Linked DNA regions of Homo sapiens: region 2 is linked to region 1. The links are contacts of gene promoters, found by promoter capture Hi-C in blood cells and fetal thymus (Javierre and others, 2016). All regions are on one chromosome and are shown on one strand. The core of a region is centred on a gene start or on the middle of the fragment in contact, and the rest is flanking DNA. Distances in the headings are between cores, read along the strand shown. Region 1 holds the start of AFAP1L1 (actin filament associated protein 1 like 1). Region 2 overlaps ABLIM3 (actin binding LIM protein family member 3).

What was found. The method cuts DNA at HindIII sites, captures the fragments that hold promoters and counts their contacts. A CHiCAGO score of 5 or more calls a contact.
Region 2: a contact is called between a fragment that was not itself captured here and the fragment with the promoter of AFAP1L1 in region 1, in 8 of 17 cell types (naive CD4 T cells, naive CD8 T cells, total CD8 T cells and 5 more). The highest score is 9.7, in naive CD4 T cells.

The regions. Positions count from the first base shown.
Region 1 is chr5:149,269,282-149,275,479 of GRCh38, forward strand. It overlaps AFAP1L1 (actin filament associated protein 1 like 1), which reads left to right and starts at 2,578. Exons shown (of 19, transcript NM_152406.4): 1 at 2,578-2,703. The coding sequence starts at 2,688. RefSeq lists enhancers at 2,557-3,096, 3,097-3,638, 3,639-4,178. The HindIII fragment of the contact is 5,831 bases long and covers 1-4,893 here.
Region 2 is chr5:149,147,706-149,153,903 of GRCh38, forward strand. The region is part of intron 2 of ABLIM3 (actin binding LIM protein family member 3); the gene reads left to right. Among named protein-coding and RNA genes, the nearest start is that of ABLIM3, 9.3 kb to the left of the region's middle. The HindIII fragment of the contact is 1,092 bases long and covers 1,812-2,903 here.

The DNA.
Region 1 (6,198 bases), core at 1,328-3,827:
CTCAGTTAATTCCACTCCATAAATTATTCCATTTTCCTTAGCCTTTTTTACTTTTTCGTTCCAATTCTCTGAATATATCTCCAAAGTCCTTGAAAGTTTCTGAAAGTTCTCTAAACATCTCTACAGGCTCATGCCTGTCATCCTAGCACTTTGGGAGGCCGAGGCCGGAGGAGCATTTGATCTCAGAAGTTCGAGACCAGCTTGGGCAACATAGTGAAACCTTGTCTCTATCTTAAATATTTTTTTAAACATTATAAAAATAAAAATATTTACAAAAGCCTCCGTCTGTTTTTGCAATAGTAACATTTCATACTGTTTTTCTAAATTATTTCAAATGAAATATTATGTTTTTAGAAGAATTAGTGAGCTAGCCTGAGAACTTAAAATACAATTTATGGGAGGCCGGGCGCGGTGGCTCACGCCTGTAATCCCAGCACTTTGGGAGGCTGAGGCGGGTGGATCACGAGGTCAGGAGATCGAGGCCATCCTGGCCAACATGGTAAAACCCCGTCTCTACTAAAATACAAAAAATAATAATAATAATAATTAAAAAATAAAATAAAATACAATTTATGGCCTTGTTTCCAAGTGTTCAGAGTTCAAACAATAAACTTTTAAAACTTAATCCACTGGTAAATTGTTGGTTGGCTGCTTTAGAATTGAAACTGACCTTTTCAAATTGGAAAAGGGGACAGCAACAAAAAGGAACTCAGAAAATAATAATGGCTCATATTTTATAGCTGTTTGTGGTTTATAAAGTGGGTTTGTATTATTTCATTTGCCCTACCAACAGTCCTGTGAGGACTTACAGTATGAGGCTTCCCATAGCACAGATGAGCAAGAAAACCTCATTGACGAAAAGTTATTATACTATGTAGTATTTAGATTGGAGCAAAAGTAATAGCGTTTTTTGCCATTACTTTCAGTGGCAAAAACCACTATTACTTTTGCACCAAACTAACAGAACAAGAGCCATGCACAAGTTTTCATACACTGTTCACAACATCACATTTGGTCTGAGTGCTCACACACACACACACTAAATTACTGATGCAATATTTTAAGAAAATGTTAATTTTAATTTGCCCATAAAAGCAATAGAGAAAATATTCCCGGCCAGGCTAGGTGGCTGGCGCCTGTAATCCCAGCACTTTGGGAGGCCGAGGCAGGTGGATCACCTGAGGTCAGGAGTTCGAGACCAGCCTGGCCAACATGGCGAAACGTCGTCTCTACTAAAAATACAAAAATTTGCCCGGAGTGATGGTGGGCGCCTGTAATTCCAGCTACTCAGGAGGCTGAGGCAGGAGAATTGCTTGAACCCGGGAGGCAGAGGTTGCAGTGAGCCGAGATCGCGCCACTGCACTCCAGCCTCGGCGACAAAGGGAGACTTTTCAAGAAAAAAAAAAAAGAAGAAAAGAAAATATTCCCAGTCCAGGAAAGTACAGGAGGGTCTTTCCCAGGCCTTTTGTTGCCTCCATACCTCTGTGGTAGCTGTTCCCTGTTCCAGAATGTTCTAAGTAGGGAACAGTGGTCAGCTCAAAGCTGAAAACCATGGCCTGGCCCATGGTGGGAGGAGCAGTGTCTAGGAGAACAATTGGTCCTGGACTTTATGAAGGGTCTTAAAGTCAGACATTTGATATTGTGTATAAATGAGTGAGACCTATTTTCACAGGGATATACTAATAAGGTGAAGAAGTTGACATTCTTCATACAGCTTTAAACTTAGATCCCATTACTGTTCCACACTGGTCATAGCAATATTTTCTACAATCTTGCGAAAAGTACACTTATATTGCACTGTATTTTGTATGCTAAAAGTATTCATTTCCACATTTTTTATCACCCTGTTCTGCATGTTTTCACGTGTTACTCATTTTTCTATTCTTTTTCTGAATTCTCCCAGATCCTCGTTATGTTTTCACGTTTTAGTACACAAGGAACCTCAAAAGTTGAAAGTGTCCCAAGCCCTTGCCCACCTTTCAGCAAGCCTCTCTTTCTCCCTTTCCCAGGTGCTTTTCTTTCTGAAGATCTTTGTTATTATTTAACTCCTCTTTCGCAACACCACTGACATTGCACCGGCATCGCCGCGGGCCCACTGTCTGGCTTAGAAGGTGCTCAAGAAAGACCCGCGGCGAATGGAGAAGACAAGCCCAAAGCCAGGAAATGGGTGGCGGCTGCAGGGAAGGGGGTTTTGATTCCCTAGGATAAAAACGCGCTCCAACAGTCTCCGCATTCCGGCATGGAGCCGGCTGAGGGGTGCGGTGGTAAGACCCCATCGCTAGCGGAGTGCAAGCAAAGCCGCACACCTCCTGGGTCCGGGCTGGGGCAGGCCGCGCGGGCGCGGGAACGAACGCGTGCGGACGGGGAAAAGGGTCCTCCAAGCCCAAGTGGGAGCGCCGCGGAGGGCGAGCGAGCGGCAGGGCGCGGCGGGGCGTGTGCGGCACCACGGGACAGCGGGCTGCGGCCCAGGGGGCGAGGCGTGCTCGGGTCTATTCCGGGAGCGGCTCTGAGGGGCGGGCGCGGGCGCGGGCGGGGCGGGGGCTGCCGGCGAGCATCCTGTCTGGGGGAGGGGACCGCAGAGAGCGCCGGCCGCTGGGCTGGCCTGAGAGCGCAGCGCGCCGGCCGCTACCAGCCGCGCCGGAGCCCCTGCGCCCTGCGGCCCGCTCCCCGGGGACCGGGCCGGCGCCATGGACCGAGGCCAGGGTAAGAGGGGCCGCGACGCCCGCACTTGTTGCGGCGCCGGGCGGGAAAGGGAGACTGGACGATCTGAAGCCGGAGAGGAGGAGGGAGAGAGGCGGGCGGTGGGGCGGGGGCTGAGGAACGCTCGGAGGGGACTGGGAGACGCGGCGCTTATGCAAAGGTGCCTTCGGCTGCCGGGACAACCCGGTGCGTGTCAACGCCCGTGTCCTGGGGCCAACTCGCCTCTCGTGTGTGAAATCAGAGTTTTCATAGGCTAACGATTTGTAACTTCATAAAAGATCCCCCTCTAGTTTCCGGAGGACAGCGAGCTCCTCCCACCTCATTCCACTCTAAAGGGGAAAACAAGGTGTACAGGTTCAACTCCCGAAACACCCGCTGTGGGCAGCCCCTAGGGAGAAGCTCTAGGGGACCGAAGTTTGCAGCTGCCTAGGGCATTGCGAGAAGGAGGAGCGCCGTGAGCAGGCGCGCGTGTGCATGCATGTGTGCGCCAGGGAGGGAGGAGGCGGGGGTGGTTCTATCCCGCACCAGCTGTGTCCTCGGCCCAGCCCTTCTCTCTGGACCAGCGACAAAGTTGGACTAGATGGTCTCCAAGGCACCTTGCCGACCCTTTTCCAGTGTATTTGGTAGACGTTTCACAGAAGTGGAGGGGACTTACTGAAATTGAGATTGACATAAGCCGAGAGGGCAGCATTCGTAGGGGGCTAGCGCACATTTTTTTCTGTTTGTTTTGTTTTGTTTGAGACGGAGTTTCGCTCTTGTTGCCCAGGCTGGAGTGAAGTGGCGCGATCTTGGCTCACTGCAACCTCCGCCTCCCGGGTTCAAGCGATTCTCCTACCTCAGCCTCCCGAATAGCTGGGATTAGAGGCATGCGCCACCACACCCGGCTAATTTTTGTATTTTTAACAGAGACGGGGTTTCACCATATTGGCCAGGCTGGTCTGGAGCTCCTGACCTCAGGTGATCAGCCGGCCCCGGCCTCTCAAAGTGCTGGGATTACGGGCGTGAGCCACCGCGCCCGGCAGCGCACATTTTAAGTAAAGGTCTAGACATGGCCTTTGGCAATGGCCAGATGGGCATGTGTGTGTCTGTAAAGAAGTGGCCTGCTTGGACATGTGAACAGTGTCAGAGGCTGGGAATCAGAACCCCAGGGTTTCAGTCTGCACCTCTGGGATCCAAAGAGATCACAGGTGTGACGGCACTAGATAAACTAGTGAGTGCTGTGCCAACAGGCGAAGTGTTGTTGTTGTTGCTGTTATTAATAATGGAAAATTCATTCCCCTCCCCACGATAATCTCACACCTCTCCCCCATCTGCCTGTTTGCTGTGCTGAGCCCCCGAAGGGAGGAAAAAAAGAAGGGAACAGGGGCATGGGAGCAATTAGCAGGCACTGGGGCAGGGATGAGCCGGGAGCAGGTGTGGGGTAACCTCCCTTACTCCTGTTAAACGGAAAGTCAGGCTTGGCGAGCTCAGAGGGCCAGAGGGGACTCCTGGCTTCCAGTTCAACCTCCTCACTTGCCCCTCCCCAACAGAGAATACTGCATTCACCTTCTCCTTCAGGGACTGGGAAGGGCAGGCAGGAAAGAGAGTGGGCTTCTGTTTGGTTCTTTAGCAACTGAGGCCTAGATTTGTAAAGCAGTTCTCACCTGTTAACTGATTTCTAGGCAAGTGTGAAGAGTGTACATCAGGGAGGAAAAACAGAGAGAAGAGGCACCTCTCACACCCCTCAGTCCTGCTGTTCCCACCTCCTGCATAATGCGTCTAAAGCAAATACCACCATCCCCCCTCCCCTTCACACTCCTAGTCGCCCGCCACCTCCCCAACCTCTCCACCACCCCCACTCCCCACCAGTTTTTAAATACCAACCTGTCTGATCTCCAGTACAAAAATCCATACCTAGGCCTACCCAGGCCTGTGGAAAGTGCACTGTGTCATCCTAAGACAGAGTGACAATAGTTCACTTCACTTTAAATGCTTGGTAACCAACAACCTCCACGTCAGAAGGCTGCCTCCAGAGCACTCTTCCTAGGAAGTCAGACTTCCCAGGAATCCCTTGGTGCTGAGAGCCTAGGAGGGCTCTGACCTGCTCTCTCCCTGCAGGCTTTTCTAGCCTGCTATCTTTCTTTACACCTCTTGTCACAACTTTATAGACATAGTTATCTGACTCTTTAGTGTCGGCCTCCCTACCCAGAAGTAAGCTTCAGGAAGGCAAGGAGTGGATCTATTGTGATCAATCTGCTGACACTGCACCTGGCACATAGTGCACAGTGAGGAGCTCCAACAGTGGTTTAATTAGTAAAATACAACACACTTTATAGTGCACCTCGAATTGATTACTTGTACAGCAATACTTAGTAGTATTCTCTTTTTAAAAATCAACATTGCTGTACAAGTAATCAGTTTGAGAATAGTACTAAGTATACTCAGATCAGTTCTTGGTGACTTACAAAGGCCATCTCAAGTAAAGTGGTCTTGTGGCTGGGCACACAAGATCAGTTTAACTGTCTGGCTCCTCAGTTCTCTACTCTGATAAATAATTGCAAACACAACCGTTTATGAATCAGAATGAAAAATCTGCATGCATTTTTAAGATAAAACATGAGACTTCAAGTATTCCAGGCTGGGCACAGTGGCTCACGCCCATAACCCCAACACTTTGGGAGGCCAAGGTGGGTGGATCACTTGAGGTCAGGAGTTCGAGACCAGCCTGCCCAACATGGTGAAACCACATCTCTACTAAAAATACAAAAATGAGCTGGGTGTGGTGGCGGGCGCCTGTAATCCCAGCTACTCGAGAGGCTGCGACAGGAGAGGAGGCATCGCTTGAACCTGGGAGGTGGAGGTTGCAGTGAGCCGAGATCGAGCCATTGCACTCCAGCCTGGGCGACACAGCAAGATTCTGTCTCAAAAAAAAAAAAAAAAAAGTATTCCAGCAGACCTTTCTTGTACCCCTGTTCCCAGGCAGGTGTGCACTCTCTTCTGTCATCAGGGAAGGCTTAAGAAGCACAGGTCTCATTTCAGCCTCCTGCCTACCATGTGAGAGATGGGACTGTCATGCCCAGCTGACTAGGGAAGAAAACCACACATTGGTATTCACGATAATAACTGAAATCATCAAACTGTTGCCATGTGCCAGGCACTGTCCTCAGCTTCTTATGTGGCTCCTCTCAGAACAACCCATAGGATGGGGCCTATGAGCTGGGACTATCATGAATCATACCTCAGGGGAAAGCAGGCTCAGCCAGGGTATTAGCCAGCAAGGGCTGCAATAACAGAATACACAGACTGGGTGGCTGCAACAACAGAAATTAATTTTCTCACAGTTCCAGATGCTGGAAGTCTAAGATCAAGGTGCAGTCAGGGTTAGTGTCGGGTGGGACCTCTCTTCCTGGCTTGTAGGGACACTTTTTGCCATGTCCCTTCGTGGCCTCTTCTCTGTGCATCCAGAGAAAGATCTCTGGTGTTTCTTCTTCTTCTTCTTCCTCTTCCTCTTCTTCTTCT
Region 2 (6,198 bases), core at 1,108-3,607, 120 kb before region 1:
ATAGAGTGCAGGCCCTGGAATCAGACTGTTCCAGGTTCCAGTTCTCATTTTTTTATGTGTTAGATGTGTGGTCTTCAGTATGGTTGTCTCATGAGCAAAAAATGAAAATGATGAGGCATACCTCAGCTGGGAATGGAAACCAAATGTTAATGTTTAGTGTAGTATGCAGAGTGTGGTACCTTGGCTGTGGGCACAGCTGGCATCATGTCAGTGATGGGTGGTCACACTGTCATGATCACTGTGGGCATCATTGTGGCTGTCATTGTGGATTTTATGACACTAGCAAGCAGGTCACGCAACCTCTCAGACTTCAGTCACATCCTTCTCATGAATTGAGAAGCACACCTGAAGTGTGATTTTTTAAGGATTAAATGGGATTATGAGGAGATGTTTTATAAACATTTGTAAATTGTTTTTACTAATAAAAAAATGCTTAGATTACAAAAACAAGAGCATGCTTAGTCAGTGGCTCTTCAGAGTGAATTTTAGTTTCATTAGAATCCTTTCTTCTGAAATCTAGCTGAATATTAAGAAAGGGGTAATTTTGGAGATGCTGGAGTGAGGTGGTGGGCAGACCTAGGTAGAGCACAGCAGGTGGGGTCTGGTCCTTATTCAGGAGAAAATAGACACCAAACATGTGAGCAGGACACCCCAGGCTTGGAAAGGCCTGGGCTCATACTGAGTCAGTACACTCGCTTCGCTGAAGGACTTCAGAGGAAAGGAGGGAAACTGGCCAATCATTGCCACTTTGTCTTCTGTAGGGTAGATCCAACATCCAGCCTTTCTTTCTCTCATGAACTCTCAACCTATTCCAAGGATCTCTCATTTGTCTCCTGACCTACTGAGGCAGCCTCTAACTGGCCTCCTTTCATCCATGCCAGCCCCCTTCAGCGATCGGCCGCATCCCTACTCTGTATCACACTCTGCTTAAAGTGAGGCTCCCATGCTCCCAGGGTGAGAAAGGAAACTCCTCAGCAAGCCTGTAAGGCCCGATGTGGCCTGCTCCTGGCCTTGCTGACCAGCCCCATCTTGTCTACAGTGCACAGTTCTCAGTGTCCTTGTCACATGTGCCTTCTCCCATTCCCTCTAAGGGTTTGCTCCTGCTGACTTTACATGCATGGTTCCTTCTGCCGAGAAAGCCCTTTCCCCACTAGCACCAGCCCCTCTGCCCAGCCCCACACTTCACACTTCACCAAGGCTGGCCTCCTCACCCTCCAGAGCATCAAGTGCACCAAGATCAATGGTACCACATACTGCTCCTACTCATTTTATAGGCTTCCTCCTGCCTCTAGCCCCTTTGTTGGTCTTTACCATGGATTTGTATGCTAACAAATTACTTTTTTAGAGTAGACTTTGTTCTGTTGAAGAGAGTATTGAAGGGTCAAATAACTCCCACAAAGATGTCATGGGATAAGTAGAGACCATGCTGGGACAGCAAGAACCTGAGCTTTGGGGTATGGATTCTCGAGTTCAAACTCAAGATCTATCATGTACTCTCTCTGTGGTCTTGGACAGAATAGATCATGTCTCTGAGCTAAATTTTACCATGTATAAAATATGAGCAATAAATGCCAAGGTGCAGGGTTCTTCTAAGGATTCAGCGAAATAACATTAGAAACTCACAGGCATTGGGTCTCAGTGAATGGAGTTGAGTCTGAAGTTGAGTTGACTGTTGAGTAAAGCAAAGTTCTGGAAAGATGGTGTCATTAAAACTAAATCCTCTGATTAAAAATTAGTCTGTTCTTCTGGTATTACAGTAGGTGATGGATTTTCTACATAGGAAACTCATAGCTCCCGGGAAGCCTACAGGAAGCTTATTAACCTGGCATTGTATATGGCATGGGTTGAAAAAGGGAAGACAGGAAGTTAGGATCCCAATTGTCCTAGTTCAGAAAACGTCTCGGGCCAAAATTTGGATGGTTATAAAACTAGAAATAAGGGGAAAAATCTTTTAGAAAATAAAGACTGCATGGCCTAGCCACTGATTGTTTTATAAGGCAAAGAGGAAAAGGAGGATTCTATTAGGTAGGGTCTTGGCAGAGAACAGATTGGCAGTTTGAGAGGAGTTAAATGGAAGGACTCTTCACAAGTGTGTGAGAAGGACATTAAGAAACAAACAAAGAGAAGCAAGCATGACCCAGTACCAGGAGCCTAGTAACTGTGGCTCATGACCCACTGCTACCACAACTGCCCCTAGCTGGACCCAGAGACCCAGCTGGCTATGGGGTGAAGGCTGCCTGACAGGAACTGTGGCTGTGGCCCCAGGAAGGCAGCCAGCCTAGTTCCAAGGAAAGAACTAGGAGGATAAATATCCTGATCCTCCTCTTCTCTCTCCCTCAGATCTCCTATGGGTACCTCCCATTGGTCAAATCCAATCAGGAGCCAGAGGGCAAGGAAGGCATTTGATAGGTTCATAATGGTCAGCAGCTTCCCAGGGCACAGTCCAGAGTAGGGAAGCAGGCAGAACGGATCTGGAGAGGTGAGGGAGTTCAGAATAGAAGACACCCAGCACACGGGGCATGATGACCTTCCTCTGCTAATGCCATTGCCCAGATCAAGAAATCTAAGGATCCCTGAAGACAGGATCCTGACACACAAGAACGCAGTAGGATGCCCTCTCTAGAAATTCTACATCTGCAAAACAGATAAAGTAGAAGTGATTATTTACTCCACAAGGATAGAGATTGTTTTAAAACAGTACTTCCCAAATGAATGAAGCAGTTGTTGACAGATGATTACCTGAGGCTAAGAAGGGGTTAGAGGAATAACGTAAGGAACAATTTTAAAATCACCCAAAATGACTATAACACATCTCAGAAAAATCACAACGTGATTTCAAGAGCACTTGGATTGCGTAAAGGAAGTGATATCAATTCTGAACTCCAGCTTTCCTATCTGGCAAAAGCTTTATCTTGCTGAGATAGCATCTGCTGTGGTGAACGGTCAACAACTGGCTATTACCCAACTTTAGGCAGAAACCATTGTAAAAGTACAGAAAACAACCAGAAGTATCTGAACACCTTCGACTTTCTGGGTATTTTGCCAGATAAATTCTTCCTTTGCAGTTCTTAAGGGCACAGACTGAAGTTAGGTTGCTGGACTCAAATTCTAGCCCTGCTTGTACTTTCTGTGTATCCTTAGGCAAGTCACTTACCTTCTCTGTGCCTCACTTCCTCATCTCTAATGATAATTACAAGGAGGCAAATAATAGTGCCTCTGTCAGAGAAGAGATATAAAGAATAAATAAGTTAGTTGTGAATTCCTTAAAACAGTGCATGGCACATAACAAAGGTTTCTGAAATAAATAGTATATATTAGTTTGCTAGGGCTACTGCACCAAAGTGCTACAAACCGGGTGGTTTAAACAACAGAAATGTATTGTTTTATAGCTCTGGTGGCTAAAAGTCCAAAACGAAGGTGTTAGCAGGGTTCCTTCTGAAAGCTGCGAGACAAATGTCTACTCGAGGCCTCTCCTTTGCTTGGAGATGGCTGCCTTTCTCCCTGAGTCTTTTCACATCACCTTTATCCATGTGTTTCTCTGTGTCCAGATTCCCCCTTCCACAGGGACACCCGTCACATTGGATTAGGACCCATCTAATGATTTCATTTTAACTTGTTTATCCCTGTAAAGACTCTATTGCCAAATACGGTTATATTCTGAGGTACTGAGGGGTAGGGCCTCAAATATGAGTTTGTGGGGACACAATTCAATCCATAATAGAGTGTTTGTTAAGGAAATGACTCCTCAAGGAGATTTTCTTGTGTTTTGGTTTCCCCTGAATGTCAGCCACTGTCCACACTAGCGTGAGATGCTAACAGTTGGTTACTAAATGCAAGTCACTAAGTTTATCTATCTAGTCTTGATGTTTAAACCCTCATTTTGCTATCCCTGACCCATGGAGGTAGACCCTCTCTTCCTAAGAATCTGAAGGGAAGTGCTCTTACATAGGAGGTCCCCACATGGGAAGACCCCAGTAATTTAGTATGTCCACAGCCAGTCTGTTTGCCACACTTTCCACCCCACCTGGTCATTTCTTACAACTGTGGTGTTTCAATAGTGTAAGGGAAGTTAGTCATGACATTCGTTTCCAATCTTCCTAGTTCCTGGGCCTGTCCAACACAGGGAATAAGAATTGGATTGTTCATTTGTTTATTCATCAGGTATTTACTGGACACCAGCTCTGCACTAAGCATAATGCTGGAGATACAACAGTAAATAGAACCAATGTGGCCTTTAAAATCATGGGTCACACAGCTGGGCAAAATGTGCCTCCTGGTGGCCAATGTAAAGGGACACGTCTTATTTGCCCTACACCAGGTTTTTAGTGAATTTGAATTATTTGCCAACAATGGGAAATTGGGAAATCAGAAGTGGGATTTCTGGCTCTCTTAAAAACAAAATGAAGTCGGAGGATTTTGCAGCCCTGACCCAATTTTTCTTCCTAACAGCAATCAATAGGATTGCCTGCTTTGGATGGGGTATATACTTAGTTTCTGGCTTGCCACAATTATCACTTCCTATTAAATTACACAGTGACAGCTTAATATTTTTATGTCACCTTGCCACTGCAGTCCAGTAGATGATCCATAAAACATCAAATATGTAGAAGTGATTCTTCACACAGAGATGTGGAAGCTGCAGCACATCTGTTAATGATTATGGGAGAAAATCCTGTCTGAAGTTAGCAATTGATTAACATTGCCATGATATTAATGTCCTCATGAAGTGAGCAAAACCCTGCCACATGTCCTTATTCCCCCAACTGACCCATTCCCAGAAGGGTGATGTCATATCCTGTTGGATACAGTTAGGCAAATAACAGGGCAAACAATATCCTGCCCTGACCTCCTGGAGGTCAGTTTTGTTTTCAGAGAACCTAGTAAAAGAGAGTAGGACACAGAACAAAGGAGGGCAATTCTGGATAACTGATCCCAGATCTGGGTACCTTTTCTAGCCCAAAAGAGGGCGTCTGAGGAGGCTGAACTGTTCCAGAGAATGTTCTGACATACGGGACATGCCTGGTCCAGTTGAGAACATCTAGTCAACAGCATGAGCTCTGTATGGGTTGGGTGAGTTTGATTACCCACCCAGCTAAGGGATGACTGCTGAAAGGCCACAACAATGATTGCATGTGGCTACTCACAACCTTTCCTCTGTCATTATAGAGTCCTCCTGCTTGAGAAAGTAGATCATGCCAACATAATTTCTTCTGTTTAGGGCAGATTCTTCCTTATTCCTCAGGAAGAAATCAAGGTAGCAAATAATTCACAGAAAGCAAAGCACAGTGTCTGGCACATAGTAGGTACTCAAAAGATAATTGATGAGTTAACGCATTCATGAAAAGCCCACTCTCTCTAATAAGCCCCAGGATAAAGATAGATAAAGATCTCTTTCCTAAGCTCTAGGGTCATCTTTCTGATCATCTGCTAAGATGGCTACTAGAATATTCCCAAGGCACTTCAAAATTTAATAAATTTACTCTCTTAAGAAAACAAAAGCAAAAAGCCTACCTTAGCTCTTACAGTCCTGGTTGATCTATAGAACCTCTATCTACCCAGTCATAAGTCAGTGATTAGAAAGCAGTCTTCTGAGACACTTCCCTTTCCTCCACTCTCCTGTGTTCCATCTGTCACCACATCTGGTCATTTCTACCTCCCAAACATGACTTGAACTCTTCCCCTCCTCAATGACCATCACTCCCTAATGTCTCCTACACCAGGCATGGCAGCCATTGGAGGAAGAGGTTAGGGGAGCAGGAGTTGGTCTCAAGTTCAGAAAGAGGCAACTGAGCAGTACGGCCTACAGGAAAAAATGTGATTTCAGGCCATATGGACAGGAGGTGAGAGTCCCACTCTGCAGACCCTGATCAGGCTCTGTTTGAAACATTATATTCAGGGAAGACAGTGATCAGCCCGTATATTCCCAGAAATGAGTGACCGGAACAGTGGAAGGACTTGAAACATGCTGGGGAGAGGATGTTGAAGGAACAGTAGGAAGACGCCAGGCAGCTCCACATGTTGGTTTTGTGTCTGCCTGAGAGTATGGATGGTCCCTCAGTGATTTCAGATTAGGTTTCACCTGGCTCCCTAAACATCTCTTAGGCCTTTTTTCTAAGGGTGTCACCAGACAGACAAGGAGAACATACAGGCTCCACATGCCGCCCTGCTGTTCCCAGGGGCTGTGGTGGCTGTTTGTGT